Regions from separate parts of the Homo sapiens genome. Here regions 1 and 3 are each linked to region 2. The links are contacts of gene promoters, found by promoter capture Hi-C in human tissues and cell types (Jung and others, 2019). All regions are on one chromosome and are shown on one strand. Each heading gives the region's core, a stretch centred on a gene start or on the middle of the fragment in contact. The rest is flanking DNA. Distances are from core to core; before and after follow the strand shown.

What was found. Contacts are between HindIII fragments. The study calls those that stand out against the background at their distance.
Region 1: the fragment with the promoter of NT5M here is called in contact with the fragment with the promoter of PEMT in region 2 in 3 of the 25 tissues and cell types used here (IMR-90 fibroblasts, dorsolateral prefrontal cortex and mesendoderm cells).
Region 3: a fragment that was not itself captured here is called in contact with the fragment with the promoter of PEMT in region 2 in 5 of the 25 tissues and cell types used here (IMR-90 fibroblasts, dorsolateral prefrontal cortex, hippocampus and 2 more).

The regions. Positions count from the first base shown.
Region 1 is chr17:17,301,693-17,305,267 of GRCh38, forward strand. NT5M (5',3'-nucleotidase, mitochondrial) reads left to right here and starts at 1,681. Exons shown (of 5, transcript NM_020201.4): 1 at 1,681-2,125. The coding sequence starts at 1,859. RefSeq lists silencers at 1,611-1,780, 1,831-1,930, 2,061-2,250. The HindIII fragment of the contact is 23,347 bases long and covers 1-3,575 here.
Region 2 is chr17:17,590,414-17,594,155 of GRCh38, forward strand. PEMT (phosphatidylethanolamine N-methyltransferase) reads right to left here and starts at 1,295. Exons shown (of 7, transcript NM_148172.3): 1 at 1,118-1,295. The coding sequence starts at 1,213. RefSeq lists enhancers at 740-1,481, 1,047-1,436. The HindIII fragment of the contact is 9,919 bases long and covers 1-3,742 here.
Region 3 is chr17:17,853,082-17,857,052 of GRCh38, forward strand. The region is part of intron 12 of TOM1L2 (target of myb1 like 2 membrane trafficking protein); the gene reads right to left. Among named protein-coding and RNA genes, the nearest start is that of SREBF1, 18 kb to the left of the region's middle. The HindIII fragment of the contact is 7,112 bases long and covers 1-3,971 here.

The DNA.
Region 1 (3,575 bases), core at 431-2,930, 290 kb before region 2:
TGTCTGCCTACCCCATTCTTCCTGGATGCAGGACAAGAACTCGGGACCTGCCAAATGGTGGGGCTAAAAGAGCTGTAACACAGGCTGGGTGCAGTGGCTCACGCCTTTAATCCCAGCACTTTGGGAGGCCGAGGGGGGTGGGGCGGATCACCTGAGGTCAGGAGTTTGAGGCCAGCCTGGCCAACATGGTGAAACCCTGTCTCTACTAAAAATACAAAAATCGGCCGGGTGCGGTGGCTCACACCTGTAACCCCGGCACTTTGGGAGGCCGAGGCGGGCAGATCACAAGGTCAGGAGTTGGAGATCAGCCTGGCTAACATAGTGAAACCCTGTCTCTACTAAAAATGCAAAAAAGCTGGGTGTGGTGGTGGGCGCCTGTAATCCCAGCCACTTGGGAGGCTGAGGCAGGGGAATCGCTTGAACCTGGGAGGTGGAGGTTGCAGTGAGCCGAGATCCTGCCACTGCACTCCAGCCTGGGCAACAAGAGCAAGACTCCCTATCAAGAAAAAAAAAAAAAAAAGGGAGAGAATGTGGTACATATATACCATAGAATACTTCACAGTCATAAAAAAAGAATAAGATCATGTCTTTTGCAGCCATATGGATGGAGCTGGAGACAATTATCCTAAGCAAACACAGGAACAGAAAATTAAATACCTCATGCTCTCACTTAAAAGCGGGAACTAAACATTAAGTAAACATGGACGTAATGATGGGGACAACAGACACGGTGACCTACTTGAGGGTGGAGAGTGGGAGGAGGGTGAGGATGGAAAAACTACCTATCAGGAACTACGCTTATTACCTGGGTAATAATAATCTGTACACTAAACCCCCAAGACAGTCAATTTATATAACAAATCTGCACATGTATCCCTGTACTTAAAAGTTGAAAAGAGGCCGGGCGCGGTGGCTCACGCCTGTAATCCCAGCACTTTGGGAGGCTGAGGTGGGAGGATCGTTTGAGCCCAACATAGGAAGACTCCTGTCTCAAAAAAAAAAAAAAAAAAAAAAAAATTACCAGGGTGTGGTGGCAGGCCCCTGTGGTCCCAGCTACTCAGGAGGCAGAAGCAGGACGATCCCTTGGGCCCAGAAACTCAAGGCTGCAGGGAACCGAGATCATGCCACTGCTTCCACCCTGGGTAACAGAGCAAGACCCCGTCTCCAAAAAAAAAAAAAAAAAAAAGCAATACAGGGGTACTTAATATTTATTCATATATTTACCTGAGAATCATCAGTTTTACTAAGGCTGTATGATGTTAGCAGATATTGGTTCTATCAGTCTCTCCGCAGACATTTGCTGTAAATAAAGCAGAGAGGCTTTCAGAGTGCACCCTGTTTTTGTTCCTCCATCCTGTTGTCTGGATCCCCTTCTAAAACGTAAGTTCCAGGATGGCAGGAACTTTGTCTATTTGGTTCACACTCGACACAGTTAGTGCTCAAAAATGTCTAACGACACAGGCCTGCTTCTCGGTTTGCACTGCTCCTCCATGGTAGTCTGTGCAGTGGGAGAAGGCAGCCCGGGCCCAGGGTCCACGGAGAAGACGCAAATCGACAGCGCGGGAGCGCGGACCTTCTGGAGGCGCGCGGCGCTTACCGCTGTCCGTCCTCGAAGCCCCGCCCCGGGGCTCCGCCTCCGCCGGCGCGTGTTCCTTTAGGGACCGCGCGCGCCGCGGCCTCGCTCTGGGGCCGGTACTTGCGCGCCCGCACCCCGCGCTCCCCGCCCCGCTCCCCGTCCCGCGCTCCACGCGCGCCCCAGCGTTGGGGGCTTCTCCTCCGCGGCGGGAATGTCTGGCCGGCTCCGGCAGCACGGCGCGGCCCAGGTCCCCGCGCCCACGACGGGCCAGCGCGCTGGGCCATGATCCGGCTGGGCGGCTGGTGTGCGCGGCGGCTCTGCAGCGCGGCGGTTCCCGCGGGGCGGCGCGGGGCGGCGGGCGGGCTGGGCCTGGCGGGAGGCCGCGCCCTACGGGTGCTGGTGGACATGGACGGCGTGCTGGCTGACTTCGAGGGCGGATTCCTCAGGAAGTTCCGCGCGCGCTTTCCCGACCAGCCCTTCATCGCGCTGGAGGACCGGCGCGGCTTCTGGGTGTCGGAGCAGTACGGCCGCCTGCGGCCAGGGCTGAGCGTGAGCGTCCCCGCCCCGCCCCGCGCCGGGCCTCCTTCTCGCCCCGAGCCCCAGACACCGCCCCTGCGCCGGTGACCTTGGACGGTCAGCGCCCCAGCCTCGGGGTGGCCCTCTGATAGAATAGGGTCTGGGGGGGACTAGGGGCCACAGCGCACCGGGAAGATGCGGCCCCGCGCTCAGGATCTGTTGGCTGCCATCCAAGGTTTCTGAAAATGCGGGAGAGTACAAAGTGTTAATATACCTAACTCTGCATTTAAAGCTGACTTCAAAATTTGTGGCATATTTGGCCTCAAGTCGTTTGTTAAATTTTTAGAAAAATAAACGTTATAAGTTGTCCTCTTTCACCCCGACCGCAGTCACATTCCCACTTCTTTGTCCCCAGGACTTTGATGGGTGTCTTTACCCATCTTTTTTACTGTTGTCCATGAAAGCATAGCTTCCAGGGGTATTTGAGGCCCAGAGAGGTTGTGTGACTTTCTGGGGGTCACACAGTGAGTCAGTGGTCCAGGTGAGGTGGGATCCACCTCATGTCTTATCCCCTTGCAGAGCTGGCCTTGCTGAACACCTGAGCTCAACCCCTACCATCCGACTCCCGAGGTGTTCTGTCCAGGATGGATAGAGGGGAAAGATCCAAGGAGGGACGTTTACACACAGATCTTGGTTGGTAAATTTGAAGTATTTTGCAAAAGGAACAGGGGATTTTGGTATGCACAAAATTAAAGAGGCTGAGTGTTTTTTGGCATCCCTTGATTGGCCACCTAGGGTTGCTGCTGGAGGGTTTGATAAAGAGGAGAAGGAAGTTACAAGAGCCCGTTTTTTAGCCACAAGTTCACTGCATCCTCTCTTTTGTTGGGTAGATATTATTATCTCTGTTTTCCAGATGAGGAAACTTGCCCCAAGTCACATGCTGCTCAGGGGCTCAGTCAGGACTCAAACCCAAGTCTGTCTGCCTCCCAAGCACAGTTAGTGCTCCCCACTCCACAGTCCTGTTCTCTGTACTACTGTCTCTAACAAGTGACATTTCTTCTGACATCAGAAAGATGCCTCATCAGTAATGTGGTTTGTTGAGGGACAGGTGTTAAAAAAGGAAACCAAGTACCGTTTGTCTCCATCAACACCAGGCACTTCAGAAGGTGACTTTCACAGAGCCCAGTGTGCTGAGCTCTTCTACAGCGGATGCCTAATGATAAACTTTAAACTGGAGAAAATGCCCTGGTACTTTCTGCAGCCTCAGGAATAGGCTCCAGTGTGTGGCGAGTGTTCATTTATAGGCAGCGCTCGGCATGGGGAGTCTGGACACCATATATCCGCCCGGGAGTGTATTAACGTGGAAACCAAGCCCACCCCCAACTCCGAAAAGTGCAGCAGCTTTTCCAGTTCTTTGTGCAAATATGTAGGCTCTGTACGTGTGGGGTTACTGGTTTCCAAGCACAAGGCAAAGGCACGGGGC
Region 2 (3,742 bases), core at 45-2,544:
CTCCCTCGCAGATACGGCAACAGGCTCTCTTGGGATTTCAATCCCGCCTTCCCATCAGCTACTCTTCAAAACACTAACTGGTATTAGCTCCTTCAGAGAACTCTCTGGCTTTCCAGGCCTACAATCTCCCTCCCTAGAATGAAAGCTCAGTGACAGAAGTGCCCTTAAACTTCTGAGTGACACGAGGCCCTCAGCCGGCCCTGAATCAATACTGGCTGGATCAGTGAGTGAATAAATGCACATGTGAGTAAGGAATGAAGGGAGCGAAAGAACTGGATTAGAAGCTGCTTGGGGCAGAGATGTGCCTTACAGGCTTCATGAAGAGTGGGTGATGAAAAAGGTAAATGGAGCATCTAAGAGGAAGCTTTGATAGAAGGGAGAATGCAAGAGAGGTTGGAAATTGGAATCCATTGGAATTGGGAGCCTGGGGAGATGCCAGGACAGGCACTCTCTGGCCTAGGACTCTGCAGAGGGCAGCCTCAGCAGGCAAGCCAGGCCCCCAGCTTCTGGGGCCGGTCGCACCCATTATGGCCCCGAAACGGCTGGGTGGTGGTCTGCAGCCTGCCCAGGGCCGGCTGGGAGACAGGCAGGGTCCCCACCACTCTCTTGCCTCTGGGCAAAAGCTGGCCTCCTGACCCTGGGGGATGGACGGGAGCAGGGGCCACACAACACACTCCCAAACATATAATCGGCCTCCTTCACCCTCGCCCACGCTCAGTCACACACAGCCTCGGTCATACACACTCACACTCACTCTCCGGCACACTCTCAGAGCATCACATAATTTCAGTGAGACACAATCCCAAAGACTAACACGGACAACCTCTGAGTCTCACACAATCTCAGGGCCACACACAGGCACACAATCAGACGAGCTCAGGAACGCCCCCGTCTCTGACACACGCAATCTGAGGTTTACACGCGCGCGCACACGCACACACACAGACACCAGCCGGCGCTCCCGCACGCGGCTCCCCCACCCCCGCCACGCCACGCCCCCATTGCCTGGGAACTGGCGGCCCCGCCCCGCAGCGTTTGAGGCGCCGCAAGCCTTCACGCCCCTCGGGCCTTGCAGATCCCTCTCCCAGTTTCCGCGGCGGTCCGGTGCGGTCAGTACCTGTCTAAAATCAATATTGCCGAGGCCTCCGCAGCAGTCAGGCCCTGCCACCGAGCTGTTCGTTACCTCGGCTCCCGGGTTCCCAGATCTCTTCATCCGGGGGCCGCCTCAGGAGGCACCACGCGGGCCCCGCTGCAGCCACGCGCCCCCGGAACCGGACCTATAGAGCCGGGTAAGTGCCGCCAGTCGGGGCGCTTTCCCGGTGACCCCCAACATATTCCGGCCTTCTGGGAAATGTAGTTCCCCGTCACCGCGAAGTGCCTCTTTATCTGGGGGCTCGCGACAGCGTCTAGAGGAGCCGAGAACTACAAGTCCCAGTGTGTTTCGCCGCAGAGCCTGCCGGTTCCGCTGCAGCTACGTAGCAGTATCCCCTTGGATCCGGCCTCCCGCCCAGTGCCTTTGGTCGCCGGCTGCCGCACCCGAGCCTGTAACTGACCTGGCGTCCCTGCCCTTGCCTGGCGGCGGTGGGGCTAGAGGCCGGGGGCCGCGGGTCGTAGCTATAAGCAGCTTCCCGCGCAGCCTCCTGCGGACTTGGACTTGGCCCGGGTCACACACGCCCAGGGCCCCACACGCCCAGGGCCCCACGCCCTCTTCTGAAATTCGCTTTACTCTGGGGGCGGTGCGCGACGAGCACTGCCTAGAGCTTCCCGCCCCCGCGGCGCCCAGGCTCTTTAGCTCGGCCAAAGACCCCTCCTCCACTCATTTTTTCCTTCATTCATTCTCTCATTCACTCTCGAGTATTTTCTGAACCAGACTGTGCGCTGAGGGTACGGTAGGGAACAACACAGAGTCCCCCGCCCTCGCTTCCTCCTGACTGAGATAAAAGACAAAATGTGAATAAAGGGTTATAATATGGATGAGTACTGTGGTGGAAAAAACGGGGTGGGTCAAATGGTACGGAAGGATGCTGTCTTAGAATGTGCAGGGGAGGTGCCAGATGTGCCAAGTGTGAGGGCAGGGCAAACAAGGCAAGACGAATGGTATGTACAAAGGCCTGGAGACAGGACGGGCACCTAAGGAACAGAGAAAAGACCGGTGAGCTGTGGAGTAGTGATGGAGGGGGTCAAATGGAGAAGAGTTTAGACGATCGGGTCCCAGAAGAACCCCTTTTGTAGGCCGGGTGTGGTGGCTCATGCCTGTAATCCCAGCACTTTGGGAGGCCGAGGTGGGCGGATCACCAGAGGTCGGCAGTTCGAGACCAGCGTGACTAACACGGTGAAACCCCGTCTCTATTAAAAATACAAAAAATAGCCGGGTGTGGTGCGCGCACCTGTAATCCCAGCTACTCAGGAGGCTGAGGCAGGAGAATCGCTTGAACCCAGGAGGTGGAGGTTGCAGTGAGCGGAGATGGTGCCATTGCATGCCAGCCTGCGCGACAGAGCGAGACTCCCTCTCAAAAAAGAAAAAAGCCCTTTTGTAGCCAGGTGTTATGTAATATGGGGAAATAGACTGAGAGGTTCCAAGATTTGCTCAGTCACCCAGACTGCTGGGGGCCCAGACAGGACTTCTGCAGTCAGCTGCTTCCTGCTCCAGATGGCCCGTTTCTCTCCACCTTGGCCCACAGCACCTACCAGTGTTGAGCATTTACTGAGCAGCCACTGTGTGCTGCTTTAGAGGTAGTCCCAATCTTCACAACATCGCTAGGATGGGGCAGGCCAACCGAGGAGACAGGAAAGACACTGGCTTTGGAGCATGCACTATCTCTGTGACTGAGCCCACCTTCATTTTCCTCAAAAGTAAAAGGGAAATACATGTTGGTAAAACTCATCACCCAGGAACTGGCCTGTGGGAAGTGCTCAGTAGGCATTGGCCCCCGGCAGGGCTGGGGACACAGGCTCAGGGCTGGTTCTCTGACTTACCACTGTTACTAATGAGTGTCGGGACCCTTTCCCTGCTCAGTGTCCAGGCAGAGCTGCTAGAGGCAGAGCCATTTCTGAAGGAGCCCCCCGCAGCGGGAGGGCTTCTAGCAAGTCTTTCCCCTCCGCCTACCACACATCCACTTCACTGATGTTCCAGTCTTCTGACCTAACTGGTCACTCCTGTTTTGTTAAGCCCAGAAAACAAATTTTTGTGCGTTTGCTTTATCTGAGAACAAAGTAAGGCAACCGTAAGAGGTCACACCAGAACTGATGCAGTCCGATCCTCTACTCCAGCCTACCCAACCTGGGCCACCCTTCCTCTGTGAAAAGCAAACACCCCACCCAGGAGACAGACTTGCAGCTTGAAACAAGTCAGATAAAAACCTCCTGCCTGGCTCACACCTGGAATCCCAGCACTTTGGGAGGCCGAGGCAGGCGGATCATGAGGTCAGGAGTTCAAGACCAGCCTGACCAACACAGTGAAACCCCGTCTCCACTAAAAATACAAAAATTAGCTAGGCATGGTGGTGCACACTTGTAATCCCAGCTACTCAGGAGGCTGAGTCAGGAGAATTGCTTGAACCCAGGAGGTGGAGGCTGCAGTGAGCCGAGATCGCGCCACTGCACTCCAGCCTGGGCCAGGCTGGGCATGGTGGCTCACGCCTGGAATCCCAGCACTTTGGGAGGCCAAGGCGGGCAGATCACGAGGTCAGGAGTTCGAGACCAGCCTGGCCAGCATGGTGAAACCCCGTCTCTACTAAAAATA
Region 3 (3,971 bases), core at 355-2,854, 260 kb after region 2:
GCTGGCAGGCCTTCTGCCTTGAGACATTCCTGGAACAGGACACACCAGTTATCATGCTCTCAATGACTGTAAGTCAGAATGTGTGGCCTCTGGGAGGACGCATGCCATGCTGAGTCCCCAAAACTGAAGCTTAGAAAGTCAGCAGCATCTCCAGAGAGAAAATAGTCCCACACTAGCGGTTAGAGTGTGCACCAGCCCTTTCTTTACACCTGACCAGCTTTTGTCCACTTAGCAGAAACAGACTAGATGTCCTGAGCTTTCCAATGTGTTGCAAAAGCTACAACAAAGACATTAAGGGGTCAGGGGCCTTAAACCTTCAGATTTTTCTTGTAATTGTTTTGTTGCTGCTAAAGAACAAATCCCTTGAGGCCTGGGGTCATACTTTAATTTTCTTCTTTGGGGATAAATCTTGAGAGCCAACATGCTCAGAAAATAAACAATGACACTTAAGAAATTCCTCACCTCCTCAAAAATAACTTCCCAAAAGCTGGCTCATGGGAACCCTTTTCTTCCATGTCCTAGATTTTTCCAAATAAGTAGTATGTTTATGGAATGGCATCCTCCAGACCAAGCCCTAGAGGGCACGCTGAGGAGAGTGCACTGGGTGGGGTCCATCTGGGCCCTCACACTCACTGGTGGCAGGACCTGGGGTGAGTCGCTCCTCTCTGGACCCCACTTTCTTCACCGGAGAGCTCCTGAGTTTCTTCTATCCTAAGAAGCCTTAGAGATTTGGGTGGAGAGGCAGGAGCAGGGGACAGAGGCCTGAGCAATGCTTGGCCTCAATTTCCTCATCTGTGAAATAAGGCGATTGCTAGATTGTATTTGGCTTTCAATTCTTATGACTCAGAAACCTTAACTTTCAGGTTGGTGCTTCTGTTTTCTAATTCAGAAACCCAGGGATGTCAGAAATTATGGAAACTGACTCATTACAATATAGAAGCCACTTGGCCTCAGGGCGTGAACCATGGTGGAGCAGGGTGATGGTTAACAGTTAAGCTTATATAACGTAAGCTTAAATTGACTTTCTTGTGGCCAGACACAAAACCTTAGCTATCTAAACCTCTTGTCCTGGTAAATAAATGCCTTGAGTATTATAACAGGGCAAAGTTCCTTCTAATAATGTAGGTGCTATCAGACTCAGACTAAACATGTACACTGCTTGGAAAATATGAACCAAAGAAACTGTGGGAGGCCGAGGACGCGCTCCTTGTCAGGCTGATGGGAGGGAAGTGGGGCCCTGGTTGGAGCAGGGGGCACTGCGCTGAGTCTTAGGGGACTCTGTTTCTTCCCTGCAGCTTTGGGCAAGACACCAGGCCCTTAGGAGGCCTCGGTATCCTCATCTGTCAGACTAGGGGCTGGCCCAGCAGATTCCTAAGAAGGCTGTTGGCTCTGATGTGTCATAGTTTTATTTTTATTTTTATTTATTTATTTAGTTATTTATTTAATTAATTAATTTATTTAGAGACAGAGTCTTGCTCTGTTGCCCAGGCTGGTGTGCAGTGGTGCGATCTCAGCTCACTGCGACCTCTGCTTCCCAGGTTCAGATAATCCTTGTGCCTCAGCCTCCTGAGTAGCTGGGATTACAGGCGTGAGCCACCACACCTGCCTAATTTTTTTTTTTTTTGTATTTTTAGTAGAGACAGGGTTTTGCCATGTTGGCCAGGCTGATCTCAAACTCCTGGCCTCAAATGATCTGCCCAGCTTGGCCTCCCAAAGTGCTGGGATTACAGATGTGAGCCACTGCACCCAGCCTGACATGCCATAGTTTCAGCATTTTCTTGGGCAATGATCCAAGCTGAAGGCTGGTCTGAGGGATCTGAAGAAGCGTATGAGTTGGAAGAGAGGGACAGAAAGGAAGAAGACATGTGAAGAGAGAAAAGGAAGGAAGCTAGCAGAGGAATGCCCTCCAATAGAGACTGCTGCCTGAAGCTCAGCCCCTCTGAAGATAGGTAGGCCAGGCTGGCTTGGCTGAGGCAGTGGTTAGACCAGCCCTGCCCATTTTCAAAGTCCACAGACATCTTGGATGTCAGAAGCCACAGGTTTTGATCTGAGTGGCAGGTGAGCCATCCTGCTGTCAGCTGATTCTCACTTGGAACTGCAGGCAGGGGCAGCTCTGCCTCAGGGATCAGGAGGGAGGGTTGCCTGCCCAAGGGGGAGAGGCATGTCTGTCTGGTACTCCAGGGGTTAGGATTATCCTTCCAGAGTAAGAGCCTTGGGGGCCTCCAGGTCTGAGGAGGGAGTCCCGCCCTCCAAACCCAAGCCTGGGTTTTGGCAGCAGCATTCTTTACTAACCTACCTCTGTTCTTGTTTTGACTTAGATTCTCTCACATGAGGATATTTTCCTGGCTGCACCCTGCAAAAGGGAGACACCCCTAGCTGATCACCAGCCAAGAGAGGCAAAAAGACCTCACACTAGAGAGGCCAGGGAGGGAGAGCACAAGCCTAGCAGTCTCCCTGAGAGCCGCCCGGCCCTAGCCCATTGACAAGTCTCATTTCTCTTCAACCAGTAATAAGCCTGGTGGTGTCAGTTAACTTCTGTGTTGGCTATCCACACACCTGAGTCCCAGGAGCATAAGGGTTCCAACAGATGCTCCTCTGCAGCTTCCCACAGCCCCATGCCCACAAGGAAACCCACCTGTCCAGTTTTCAATGTAACAAGAACAATTTCTGTAGCTCAGGTGTACTATTTCCAGAGAAGCTGTGAATCCCTTCCTATGTCACTTCAAGCACCACCCCACTGGGACCAAGTCTAAAAGCCTTTGATCTCACTCAATAGTACAAAAAGTTTCCAAGTAAAGAATTTGTACTCAGGAGGCTTGAAAAGACTCAAGGTTTCTACACTATGGGAAATAAGGCAAAGCAATTAATATTTGTTGTAAAGAAAAAAAAAAAAACAAACTGCAGTCAGTCAGGCAAGACACCAGGTTAGCTGTTAGTTAGGTTTGTTTCTGGGAAGTTAGAGACTGGAGCTCTACGTGGGACCTGGCAGTGGCGAGGCAGTCTGTGTGGGCAGAGACAGGCACCACCACCAGCTGCCAAGGCCACCCTCAGGGGAGTTTGTGTGGGCAGTATCCTTTTTTGCAGGATTAATAGGCACAAGGGCATGTGGGCTGGATCTTCCCAATGAATGGACATGGTTTCCAGAAGCCCTGCTGCAAAGGCCCCTGACATGTGGGCCAGAGGCCAGCCTGTCCCTGAAGAAGCAAATGAGAGGCCTGGGCCAGCACATCTCTCTAAGAATGGGCTTGGGGTCTAGTGGAGGAACTGCCTTCTCACGCAGAGCAGCAGTATGCTGCTACTATGAGAGGTGGCAGGAGACCTGCCCAGGCTGACAGCAGAGCTGTGCAGAGGGCACCAGCCCAAGCTGGGTGGCAGGCAGATGCCCCTTGCTCCCACGGCTCTGGGTGATCCTGCATGGCCCAAGTTCCTACTCACTGGTCACGCTTTGCTCAAGCAGGTGGACCCTGTGCTGCTTGCAGTCTAGGACCTGCTGGCCTTTCCTCTGGCCACAGCCTAGCATAGCACACTATGGGCAGTTATGTATTCCTCTCACCCCACCCCACCTGGAGGGAGAGGCACATGTTTGCACTGCTTTCATCATCTTTCCTTCTCTGCATTCTCTCCAGCTCAGGCTCCATCACATGTACCACAGCTTTGGGCTCTGCTAGAGGTGAAATGGTCATCCCAAGACATACAGCCTGAGATGAGCTGACCCTCTCTCCATGCACCAGGCTCAGGCCACCTGAACAGACAAGGCAGGAGAGACCCTTGCAGGTCTGTGGGCCAGGAAAGCTCTGCTACATGAGAACCAACTGTGTTTACAACATTGAACTCCCCTGGGCTTTGTTTTCTTTTTACTCTGTTTCTACTGTGTTTATTTTTTTATTTTTTTGAGAGGGAGTCTCACTCTATCACCAGGCTGGAGTGCAGTGGTGCAATCTCAGCTCACTACAATCTCTGCCTCCCAGGTT